Linked DNA regions of Homo sapiens: region 2 is linked to region 1. The links are contacts of gene promoters, found by promoter capture Hi-C in blood cells and fetal thymus (Javierre and others, 2016). All regions are on one chromosome and are shown on one strand. Each heading gives the region's core, a stretch centred on a gene start or on the middle of the fragment in contact. The rest is flanking DNA. Distances are from core to core; before and after follow the strand shown.

Region 1 (5,314 bases), core at 2,652-5,151:
TTCCTGATTCTCTTTCTCTGATTGTTCCTTCATTGGCTCCACTATCATTCACTGGCTCCACATCTTCCTCTGATTAAAGATATTCTTCTGGGTTCATTAGATTAAAAACATCAGCAATAGGATGCCTCCCACTCCCTCAATTCAACAAACGCATTTGTGTATCCAGTTGATTCTAGCTTCTCAGGGAAAAAAGGAGAAATTACAATCCAGTAAAAAAAGATGTTAGTATCATTAAATATAACTTAGGTTCATATCTCAGGTCTGTCAGTCATGAGCAATGTGGCATGAGGTATACTACTTAATCAATTTAAGCCTCTGTTTTTCATCTATAAATTGGAGAAAATAATGCCTATCTTTTAGTATTACTTTATGAATTGCAGTATGCAAAGTACATATTCCAATGGCAGGTAGGTACATAGTGGGCATTTAATAAAAATTTTTCCTTATTACTGTTATTTCCACACTCACTTCCACCAAACTTATATAGTCTGTTTCAACTTCTTTTAGTGTGTCATACACATCAACAAAAGACAAATCATCTAGAGTACAGATATAAACAGGTTTCCTATCTGGCCCAGTAAGTCCCAACTGCTTGACTCAAAGCTCAATTTCTCCCGATTTAAAAATCTTCAGGTTCTAGCCCCAAGCTTCCTCTTCAACCTTCTCCCTCACTGCTCTTCTAAATGAATACCATTCTCCAAACAAATTGGACCTTTTTTGGTTCTCAAACATGCCGTATACTCTTCACCTCAAAGTCCACCTCAGATTCTACCTCCTTTATGAAACTTATCTCCCTAGCTGGATATTTTATCTTCAGAGTATTTTACTGGTACTTCTCTCAGAAGGTACTCATATTCTGCCTGGTATTCAATTATTTGTGCATAAATAACCTTTCCTGCTTATAAATTGTAACCCCTTTGAAGGGAGAAACTAGGTTCCTATTCGTGCTAGTACTTACCACTTAGCTAAGTGATAACACATGTATATTTAAAAATAATAAACAAGGCTGGGTGTGGTGGCTCAAGCCTGTAATCCCAGCACTTTGGGAGGCAACGCAGGCAGATCACCTGGGGTCAGGAGTTCAAGATCAGCCTGGCCAACATGGTGAAATCCCATCTCTTCTAAAACTACAAAAATCAGCCAGGCGTGGTGGCGTGCACCCGTAGTCCCAGCTACTGGGGAGACTGAGGCAGGGGAATCGCTTGAACCCGGGAGGTGGAGGTTGCAGTGAGCTGAGATGGCGCCACTGCACTCCAGCCTGGGTGACAATGTGAGACACCATCTCAAGATAAATAAATAAATACAAATAAAATAAAATAATAAACAAAAAACCCTGACTCTTTCTCAACGAATTATTTTCCTCAACTTCTTATGAAGAGGTAGGAATAGGGTGGGAAGGGAACAGTGTATATAGGGTACTTACAGAGGCACTGCAACCTGAATTCCCACTTGGAATTCTCCCAGCTGCTGCAAAAAGGCAGGGCTGAAATAGCTATTATAGAAATTGACTAGGTAAGACTTTAAGATCTGTTAATCGATTGCAGTCAACCTCTTGGGAAACCCTTTACCAATCTGCTAAGCTTGTCTATATTTCTTTTCTTCCCAACGGTTATTTTTCCTAACCTTCCAGTCTCCTCTAAACCAAGTAAACAAAAGATTTTAATTTAAACCCACAGTCGAACGCCTAGTGAAATACACGTGTATATTTAATGTTATGTATTAGTTCCTATTTAAGAATTTTATTTCTTTAAAATTTATTTCAACCAAAATCCAACACCAAATTCTATGGGTAATATCTTAAGGCAGCACCTAGTATAGTGCTTTGTATATAGTACACATTCAGTATGTAATGGTTAAAAGAGTGAATTTACAGTCTACAATTGCAGGACTTAATTTTGGCTAATTGCAGTGGAAAACATGAGAAAAGATATAGTCCAAGTAAGAATGACACTTGAGGGTTCAGGCCCGCAACACCAGCTAGGTAGACCCTTAGGTGGCCCAGTGGTATACAAAGATTTAAGCATTCCCAGCTGAGCCCCTTGACAATAGAGATACATCATTTTATTTTGTATCACTTAGTACTGTGCCAAATCCAAAAATACTCTCTCAAGTGCAAGAGTATTCAGGAGTTAGAAATATTGAAAGTTCCACTATTCAAGCAAATTAGGTATAGTTCATATAATTTTTTCAACTCAGGATCCTCAGTCACTCCATAGAGTAAGCAAAGTATGCAATTACTAGAATTATTAGTCTCAATTTACATAAGATCACACTGCTGGCACTAAACTCCAGTTCCAGACTCTTTTTTCCACTATTGAATGCCACAGAAACATAAAAAAAAAAAAAATGGAAGGATCTTTAGAAACCATGTAGCTGGATTTTTTTTAAGATGATGAAAACTGAGGCCCATGAAGAGAGTCACATTAGCTCAAGGCTCCTACTAAAGCCAAATAATTTCGTGCAAAATCATCTCCCTCTGATTATCATTATCTACACACACAAATACATAATTTTTCTTTTTGCCTTTCTGAAAATCTGGAGGTCTGAAAAGACTTTAAGATTTCTCTCAAGTTAAAAATACACGTTTGTACGTGTAACCAGAGGGCAAGTTTTCTATGGTCCACATGTTTTCTTAAAAAAAAAAAAAAAAAGGAAATACAGGAGATGTGCAGTGCGTGTGACAGGCAAATGTTCTCGAACTTTATTGTGTAGTGTAACCCCTATGGCACAGGCCCTTAGAATTCAGCCACATTAATGAAGAGATATTTTTATGTAGTAGAAAGAGCACAAACTTTGAGGTGTTTTGTTTTGAGACAGAGTCTTGCTCTGTTGCCCAGGCTGGAGTGCAGTGGCGCGATCTCAGCTCACTGCAACCTCCACCTCCTGGGTTCTAAGCGATTCTCCTGTCAGCCTCTGGAACAGCTTGGATTACAGGCGCCCGCCACCACGCCAGGCTAATTTTGTATTTTTAATAGAGACGGGGTTTCACCATGTTGGCCAGGCTGGTCTCGAACTCCTGACCTCAGGTGATCCACCCGTTTCGGCCTCCCAAAGTGCTGGGATTACAGGCGTGAGCCACCGCGCCCGGCCCAACTTTGAGGTTTTATCTGCCACTTACTATGCAGTCTTGGCTAGAACACTTAACTTCTTTGAGCCCGAGTTTCCTCATCATTAAATGGAGATAATTCAGGTTTGATGTGAAGATTTGAGAAGAAGGTATGTCTGACACACTGCCGAAGATCGATAAATATTTGTTGAATGAATAACACAGCCAGCCGAAGCTCAACAAAAGACACATACACAAACACACCCACACGGTTGGGTAGTTGCCGTCTCCCGGGGAGCTCCAGAAGTGTAAGCTCTCAGCCCTCCCTCTGACTTCAGAAGCCTGAAGCTACTAAGCCCGCAGCCCGGTGCGTCTCTTCGCAGCCTTAATCAGTGCCCGGGCAAAGGCCTGCAGAGAATTCTCTGGGCCTCGCACCAGGCCCCAAGAACACACTGGAGACTCGTTTCGCCTTCTCCCTCGCCGTTTCCCCCCTCCAGGGCCAGAGTCCGAGGAAGCCCGATAGCGGTTCTCGGCCTCCGAAACACAACTACAACACTGGGGAGCTTGCCCTGCAGTTAGCGTCCAGCGGGGATTAGGCACTTCGTTTTCCTCATCGTTTCAATCTCTATCTTCTGGTCGGGGTCCAAGCTCAGCGGCACCACGTCACGGCCCTTAGTGGTCTAGGCCACACCCCTCCTTCCCGACAGCCTCAAGTCCACTACCAGCGGTCTGGAAGGCCACGTTGCCTAGGAAACTGGGGCGGGGCTTGGGAAACGACGGCCCTGCGCGCAGTTTGCGCAGGCGCTCCGGCCCTGGCCTCTGACTATCGCGAGAATCGGCTCCCGGAAGTTCCACGTCAGTCAGTCTGACGGTCAGTGGATCGGTGGGTTTATCTCAAGGCCTGAGTAGCCGGTAACAAACGAGGGTTCCCGGGATTGGACCGACGCAGCCATGGTAGGTCCAGATCCCGTAGAAGGGAGCGGGGTCCCATAGGTTACGGCCGATTCCTGGAGCTTCTGGACTGAGGGCCGCGGTAAGCAGTGGTCTGGGCTCCCGCTGCGGCCGCCGCCTCAGGCCTTGCGGGGTCTTGGTCGTTTGATTCCAGGAAGGGAGAAGGCGGTGGGGCCTAGGGGACCGGGGTGATTTGGGGAGGCAAAGCCTGCTAGTGAGGGGTTTTGTCTCCCCTGGCGCTTGTGGCGCTTGCCAGAGCTCCTGCAGTCTGCAGCGGGATCGGTGGTGTAGGGAAACACAGAAGCCGAATGTGTTGAACTCCGTAGGAGGCTTTGGTAAAACTAAAGTTTGCCTTTAAAACGGTGGTAGTTAATCTACACTCCTGTTGGGCTTATTCTGGGGATAGTGTGTGCTGGCTACAAACTATAAACAAGCAAAGAAGCCAAAAACAAATGTATATGGAGTCAAAAATGGAATTTCAAATGCTTTGATATCTCAGCTGTTAGGTTTCTAAGGGGAGAAGAAGGGTTGGGAGGAAGGGGGTGCTGTTTATAACACTGGCTGGTGTGCTTTTATGCATTTGCAAATCCAGTGGCTGGTAAGAATAGTAATTGTTAGAGCACTTTGTTATTATCACCGTAACCCTAAAAAACGCCCTAGACTAGTTTGCACAAGAGTGTTATAATAATAAGGAAAGAAAACGATAGTATAAGAATATCTTCCGTCTCTATTGAAAATGCAAAAAAAAAAAAAAGAAATTAGCCGGGCGTGGTGGCGGGCCCCTGTAGTCCCAGCTACTCAGGAGGCTGAGGCAGGAGAATCGCTTGAACCCGGGAGGCAGAGGCTGCAGTGAGCCGAGGTCGCACCACTGCACTCCAGCCTGGGACAGAGCAAGACTCCGTCTCAAAAAAAAAAAAAAAAAAACTTGTTATGAAGCACAGAATCAAACATTTTGGAGCTTGAAGACGCTAGGGATTAAGTCCCTCATCTTAAGTTAAAAAATTTTTTTAAATTATGTTTCTACAAGGTTAATTGTGGCAAAGTTGGAACTAGGAAAAAGTTAGGAATACTCCCAGGGAAAATGCACAGAGAAACAAACATTTTTGCATAAAATTCAGTGCATTCATTCACAGACACCCCCCCCCACAATCCATGGACCTTCTTTTTTTTTTTAATTTGTTTTATAAAAAATATGGAACGCTTCACGGATTTGCGTGTCATACTTGCGCAGGGGCCACGCTAATCTCCTCTCTATGTGCTGCCGAAGCTAGCACTATCCGTGGACTTTCTTGGGCACCCAGGTTACAGTCCCTGAAC
Region 2 (5,764 bases), core at 663-3,162, 1.1 Mb after region 1:
TGCCTCGGCCTCCCAGAGTGCTGGGATTACAGGCGTGAGCTACTGCACCCTACCCAAACTGTACACTTTTGAAAGTGAGAGGGGTTGCTATTAATAATTGCATGGGACAACAGGTGAAAAGTGGGGGTGTCCCAGGCAAACTGGGACATGTGGTTTACCTAAATTTGTTTCTGAGGTTTAGCCTGGCAAAGATGTGAGTACATTTTGTAATAGAGACCACATGGTAAGAAATTTAACCCTTTCAGAAAGAATAAATGTCACTATCTTTCCATGTGCTGGCAAGAGGAATTTAGCATCTGATTTGAATTTTATTTTGGAAACTAAATTCTAAGGGAGATTCCACACCATTCAAGAGCTTCAGCAACCACCACCTTGTGGCAATGAACATGATTTGCATCTAGTCAACTCAGTTTGCAATGTGGTGTCTTAAGGACTGCCTGTGGCTCTGCGTAATATTATCATGGAACTGAATATTGCCATGGGACTGAATGCAAGAAAAGAGTAGGTGGATTCGGAGCTGAAGTGGGAGAAGGCAGGATGACAGGTAGGAAGATGTTCGGTCTCCAGTATACCCATCGCCCTGTACTTCACAGAGGGTTGCTGGGTACCTCATGGCCAAACAGGGTATCAGCACTCCCTGGATGGAAATCATTTGGTGTATGCTTCACTTAGGAAGAATTGATATCTTAACAATATTAATTCTTCCTATCCATGAACACGGAATATTTCTTCATTTATTTAAATCTGTGAGATCTCTTTCATCAGCTGTGATTGATTCCTAGTTTAATTCTATTGCAGTCAGAGAACATACTTTGTTCTATCCTTTTAAATTTGTTAAGCTATGTTTTATGGCCTAGATTGTGGTCTATCTCAGTGAATGTCCCATGTGAGCTTGAGAAAGAATCTATATTCCGCTGTTGTTGAACTAAATATTGCATAAATGTCAATTAGATCAATTTGATATTTTTCAGTTCAACTATATCCTTGCTCATTTGCTTCTGCTGGATGTATTAATTACTTTTTAAAAATGGTATGAAAGCATTCTATTATAATACTGAGTTTACCTATTTTTCCTTGCAGTTTTATCTTCTTTTGCCTCACATATTTCGGTGCTCTGTTTTTAAGTACATACATATTAAGTATTGTTATGTCTTCCCAAATAACTGATCCCTTTAACTTTATGTAATGTCCCTGTTTATACCTGATAAATTTCCTTGTTCTGAAGTCTGCTTTTCTTGAAATTAACATACCTACTTCAGCTATTTTTTTAATTAGTGTCAGCCTGGTATAGCTTTCTCTATCCTTTTGCTTTTAATGTATTTTCTTGTGGATAACACACGATTGGGCTTTGTTTGTTTTTGAAATCCATTCTGACAATCTCTTTTTTAATTGGTGTAATCAGATTATTCACATTTAAAGTGGTTATTGATACAGTTGGATTAATATCTACAATGTCTGTAACTGTTTTGTATGTGTCTCACTTGACTTTCATATCTAATTTTGAATTTGTAATTTCATATTCTTTGCCTTAAAGAGAACGCTTGCAGATCCCTCAAAACCTGGAGACACCCCCCACCTTGCACACATTATACCGGTATGTGATGGTAGAAAAGCTGCACATCAGTCTTGGCAGGCAGGGCAGGAGGGATGCAGGGATTCACAGATGCGACTGTGCAACGCACAGATGCACTGGGTCTTTGCTTGGTGGGTTCGAAGCCTCCAGACGCTGACAAACACTGCAGCCAATGAGTGGGTTCCTATGGTCCGATATGGAGGGCAAGGGGCGGGACTCCCTCCTGCCTCTCCCTGGCTGGGTTCAGAGCCTCCGCGGAGAGACTGCGTTGGGCCCAGAGTGGGCGTGGCTTACGTGTCCGCCGGCTTTCCTGGCAGGCCTGGCGGGGGGGCCAGGTTGCCATGACGACCGCGGCTAGGTCGCGGCAGACTCGGTTGGTGACTCCGGGCGCGTCGAAGATCTTGTACCTGTCGTTCGCAGTGGCTCACTTTCCCAGTAATCCATAAGAACAGCAGGGATAACAGGGTCCCATGTCGTTTTTTTGTCAGAATTCCTCGACTGGCGACCCTGTGCCCGACAGGCTGCACCGCGCCCGGCGCACTGACTCCGGCCTCTGCGCGCGCCCCCTGGCCGGCTCCGGGGTGGGGAGGGGGCTTCGCAGATCCCCAGAAAACCGCCCGGCGAGCCACGAGCCCGTGGACTGCAGGCTCCGCTTCCTCGCGGGGTGTTCACTTTGTATCAGTGTGCTGATTTGCCGCCAGTTAGAAGCACCTTAAAAAGGGGCCGGGGGCCGTAGGAGGGGGGCTTGTCTGAAGGAGGCTCTGGGCTTGCTGATCCACGCAGCGGTTTGTCGCGAGGCTGCGGGGGAACGGCCCACGGCCGCGGTAACAGGGCTTCGTCTTCTTTGCAGAGCCATGGGCAGCAGGAAGAAGGAAATTGCCCTGCAGGTAAGCCTCAAGGGGCGCTAGCTTCCAGCTCTGGGTTGGGCTCGGGGAAGAGGAGGGTGATTAGAGCGGGGTTGCAGTATAAAAGTGACATTCTGTTTGCCAGCAGTACGTGACAGTGTTCTCAAACTTGAGTGATGTACCCTTCCGTCTTAAAGGGACAAAACTTATCTTGGAACCCCAGTGATGACAAATTTTACGCAAACAAAATTAATGCAAACAAAACTGAGTAGAAGCTGTTTACATTTATAGTGCTTATACAACCATAAAACCTAAACATGCATTAAATAAAACTATAAACTAAGAAAATACGAATCAACATAACTCGATGTGACCGTTATTTTGTTCTTGTTGAAATACAACTGCAGCTTGCACAGAGAATACAGTATAGGTTCTTTTGACTTTGGGCATGAGTCTGTAACTGTGTGCTCTGTGGAGACCCAGTTTTCCCACCACTGTTCTCATCAAATTTCACTTATTAACAAATATGTTTTGAGATATATTATGTGCTGGACATATGTTATATAGAGTGTCTTACTTCATTTGCATGTGGGACAAGTGAATTCAGAAGCCAGCAGCTGCTCTTCTTCTTGGTCCTGGACAATAGATAGTGGTTGATTCTGAAGTGATGGTAAAAACATGCAGGCATAGACCCTGGAATTAGGAGAGAGTGCTTGGTCATAAGGAGATCAGCTGGATGATCTGCAACATGGGAACATTTTAAAACGAACTTAAAATGCCTCATCATCAGCTGGCCCCAGTAAGATGCATACCAAGGCTACAGCGCCTCCTAGATAATAGAGCATTAGTGGTTTTGAGACATCTGGTTTCTCTCTTATTGTCCTCAGCAGGACCAGCAGTTTGCATGTGGATTTCAAAAGCCTAGTGGTTTAAAAAAGAGGAAAGGGGAAAGCAGCATCATTCTAAGGGTACCCCATGCTGGGGGTGGGAGGGGTGTGGGGTGGGGTGGGGTGGGATTTTTAGACTGGAAGTCAGAAGACCTGATGTAGTTCTTGTGTCCTCTATAGCCAACTGTGTCTTTGACTACATCACATAACCTCTCCAGGCTATAGCTTGCCCATCTATGGAATGAGGATGTTGTGTGAATTATCCCTAAGGGCCTTCTTCCAGCCTTGATATTCTAGGATTCTAGAGTCAGAAGCCACTTCATACGTGAATGTTCTGGTTGAAGTAAATTCTGATCAACTGGTCCTACCATTCATTGCTGTGTGACTCATTTCCTCAACTCTCTGGCCTCCGTATCCTTTACGTAGACAGGAGGGATGATACCTGTCCTGTAACGCCTGCAGAGCTGTGATGAGACTCCTTTAGACACTTCCTGGCTGGTCTGATGTTGTCTGTGGTGTCTCTAATGTTATTGCCCCATATTATGGTCATTTCATGTGTTGATGCCCTAGAGCTCCTATGGGGGTAATAACTTTTGTTAGCAATGTTGTTATTTTTTCATGTGTATTACTCAGAGCTCTGAGTACAATGCAGTACTCAAACTAAGTGCTCCCTCCTGCTGAAAGGAGGAGAGCGAGCAGCCTCCCCTCCCGTCTTCTACTGAGGCATCTGTGTAAAGGTCACCTCTCTATAAGGTAAACCCCTTGAAAGCAATGCCTAAAGTTGGCCAACCCAGGAACCTTGTCCTCTCTCTCAGCAAGGTTATTCAGGGTTCCCTTTATAACTGAGACAGGCAGAAATCACAGGACATCAAGGGACAGTCTGGGTAAAAGGTGCCACACATTCCCTATTCATTCCCTACCAAATGCAGGCTTAGTGAAGTCCGGATAGTTCCCACACTGTTCCACTCTTGCCTGGCTCCCAGGGCTGAGATTCTTCAACTGCCCAGAGTCCTGGCCCCAGAGCTGGTGGGACTCACTCCATGACAGGGGTGGGCCACAGAGAGCTGCTGGTGACTTAAGTCTGAGCCTCTGGGTAGGGGTGTGGGGCCCTTCCGAACGCTTCTATCACCTTCCTCAGGACTGTAGTTGTGGGCCCAGGGTTATGTCAGTCCAACTCTCTTATTTCATTTAAGACATCAAGAAGACTTTTCTGGGTTTCTTTTTCTTCTACTTTTCATTGAAACAAAAAAAGTAAGGACTATGCTTCCTTAAAAGAGAGACTTTTTTTTTTTTTTTTTTGAGACAGTTTCATTCTGTCCTGTCGCCCAGGCTGGAATGCAGCGGCATGATCTCATCTCAGTGCAACCTCCACCTCTCACGTTCAAGCAGTTCTCATGTCTCAGCCTCCCGAGTAGCTGGTAAAACAGGTATGCGCCACCACGCCCGGCTAACTTTTTTTTTTTTTTTTTTTTTTTTTTAGTAGAGGCAGGGTTTCACCATGTTGGCCAGGCAGGTCTGAAACTTCTGGCCTCAAGTGATCTGCCCGCCCTGGCCTCCAAAAGTGTTGGGATTACAGGCATGAGCAACCACGTTCGGCCAAAAAAGGAACTTTTAATAGAGGATTAGCAGTTGTTACATGTTTCTTGCCCTTATTGCCAATAATGCATCCTATCTTTTTTAGAGGGACACAGACCTTAGCATACCTGTATTAAGAACAATAGTAGGCCAGGCGTGCTGGCTCATGCCTGTAATCCCAGCACTTTGGAAGGCCGAGGCAGGCAGATTACTTGAGGTCAGGAGTTCACGACCAGCCTGGCCAACATGGTGAAACCCTGTCTCTACTAAAAATACAAAAAATTACCCGGGTGTGGTAGCGGGCACTTGTAATCCCAGCTACTTGGGAGGCTGAGGCAGGAGAATCTCTTGAACCCAGGAGGCAGAGGTTGCAGTGAGCCATGATCATGCCACTGCACTCCAGACTGGGTGACAGAGTGAGACTGTGTCTCAAAAAAGACAAACAAAAAACCCAGTAGTAATTTTTGTGGTCTTTTAATGTATATAGTTTCAAAGTAGCTCACCACAAAAATATGTTAATTACAAAGGAAAAGAGAATAATTTTACAGACAACAGACCTGACAGACCATGTTAATCCAGTGATCAAAGTGAACATCAGTAACAGGCAGATGGAAATTGTGTCTCATCTGCTAGGGAGTAGTGAGAGGAATGATCTTCAGCTTCTCCAACACTCCAACCAGTCCAGCCAATTTCAACCAGTCCAAACATGCACAGTCTGAATCCAATCAGGAGGAAACATCAGATATGCCCCAACTGAGGGACATTCTACAAAATACCTGGCATGTAGTTTTCCAAAGTGTCAACATTGTGAAAAGAAGAGAAAGACTAAAGAACTATTCCAGACTAAAAAGACTTGACAAATAAATCTAGCACACATTTCTGAT

The links. The method cuts DNA at HindIII sites, captures the fragments that hold promoters and counts their contacts. A CHiCAGO score of 5 or more calls a contact.
Region 2: a contact is called between the fragment with the promoter of NME9 here and the fragment with the promoter of COPB2 in region 1, in 3 of 17 cell types (total CD4 T cells, non-activated CD4 T cells and total CD8 T cells). The highest score is 6.7, in total CD4 T cells.

The regions. Positions count from the first base shown.
Region 1 is chr3:139,388,234-139,393,547 of GRCh38, reverse strand. COPB2 (coat protein complex I subunit beta 2) reads left to right here and starts at 3,901. Exons shown (of 22, transcript NM_004766.3): 1 at 3,901-4,000. The coding sequence starts at 3,998. It overlaps COPB2-DT (COPB2 divergent transcript), which reads right to left and starts at 3,745. Exons shown (of 5, transcript NR_121609.1): 1 at 3,615-3,745. It also overlaps the pseudogene LOC124906339. RefSeq lists enhancers at 3,064-3,173, 3,053-3,615, 3,384-3,683, 3,616-4,177, 3,974-4,223. The HindIII fragment of the contact is 7,530 bases long and covers 1,583-5,314 here.
Region 2 is chr3:138,325,999-138,331,762 of GRCh38, reverse strand. It overlaps NME9 (NME/NM23 family member 9), which reads left to right and starts at 1,912. Exons shown (of 11, transcript NM_001349018.2): 1 at 1,912-2,460. The coding sequence starts at 2,428. LOC124909438 (a long non-coding RNA gene) reads right to left here and starts at 1,830. Exons shown (of 2, transcript XR_007096113.1): 1 at 1,593-1,830. The HindIII fragment of the contact is 16,828 bases long and covers 1-5,764 here.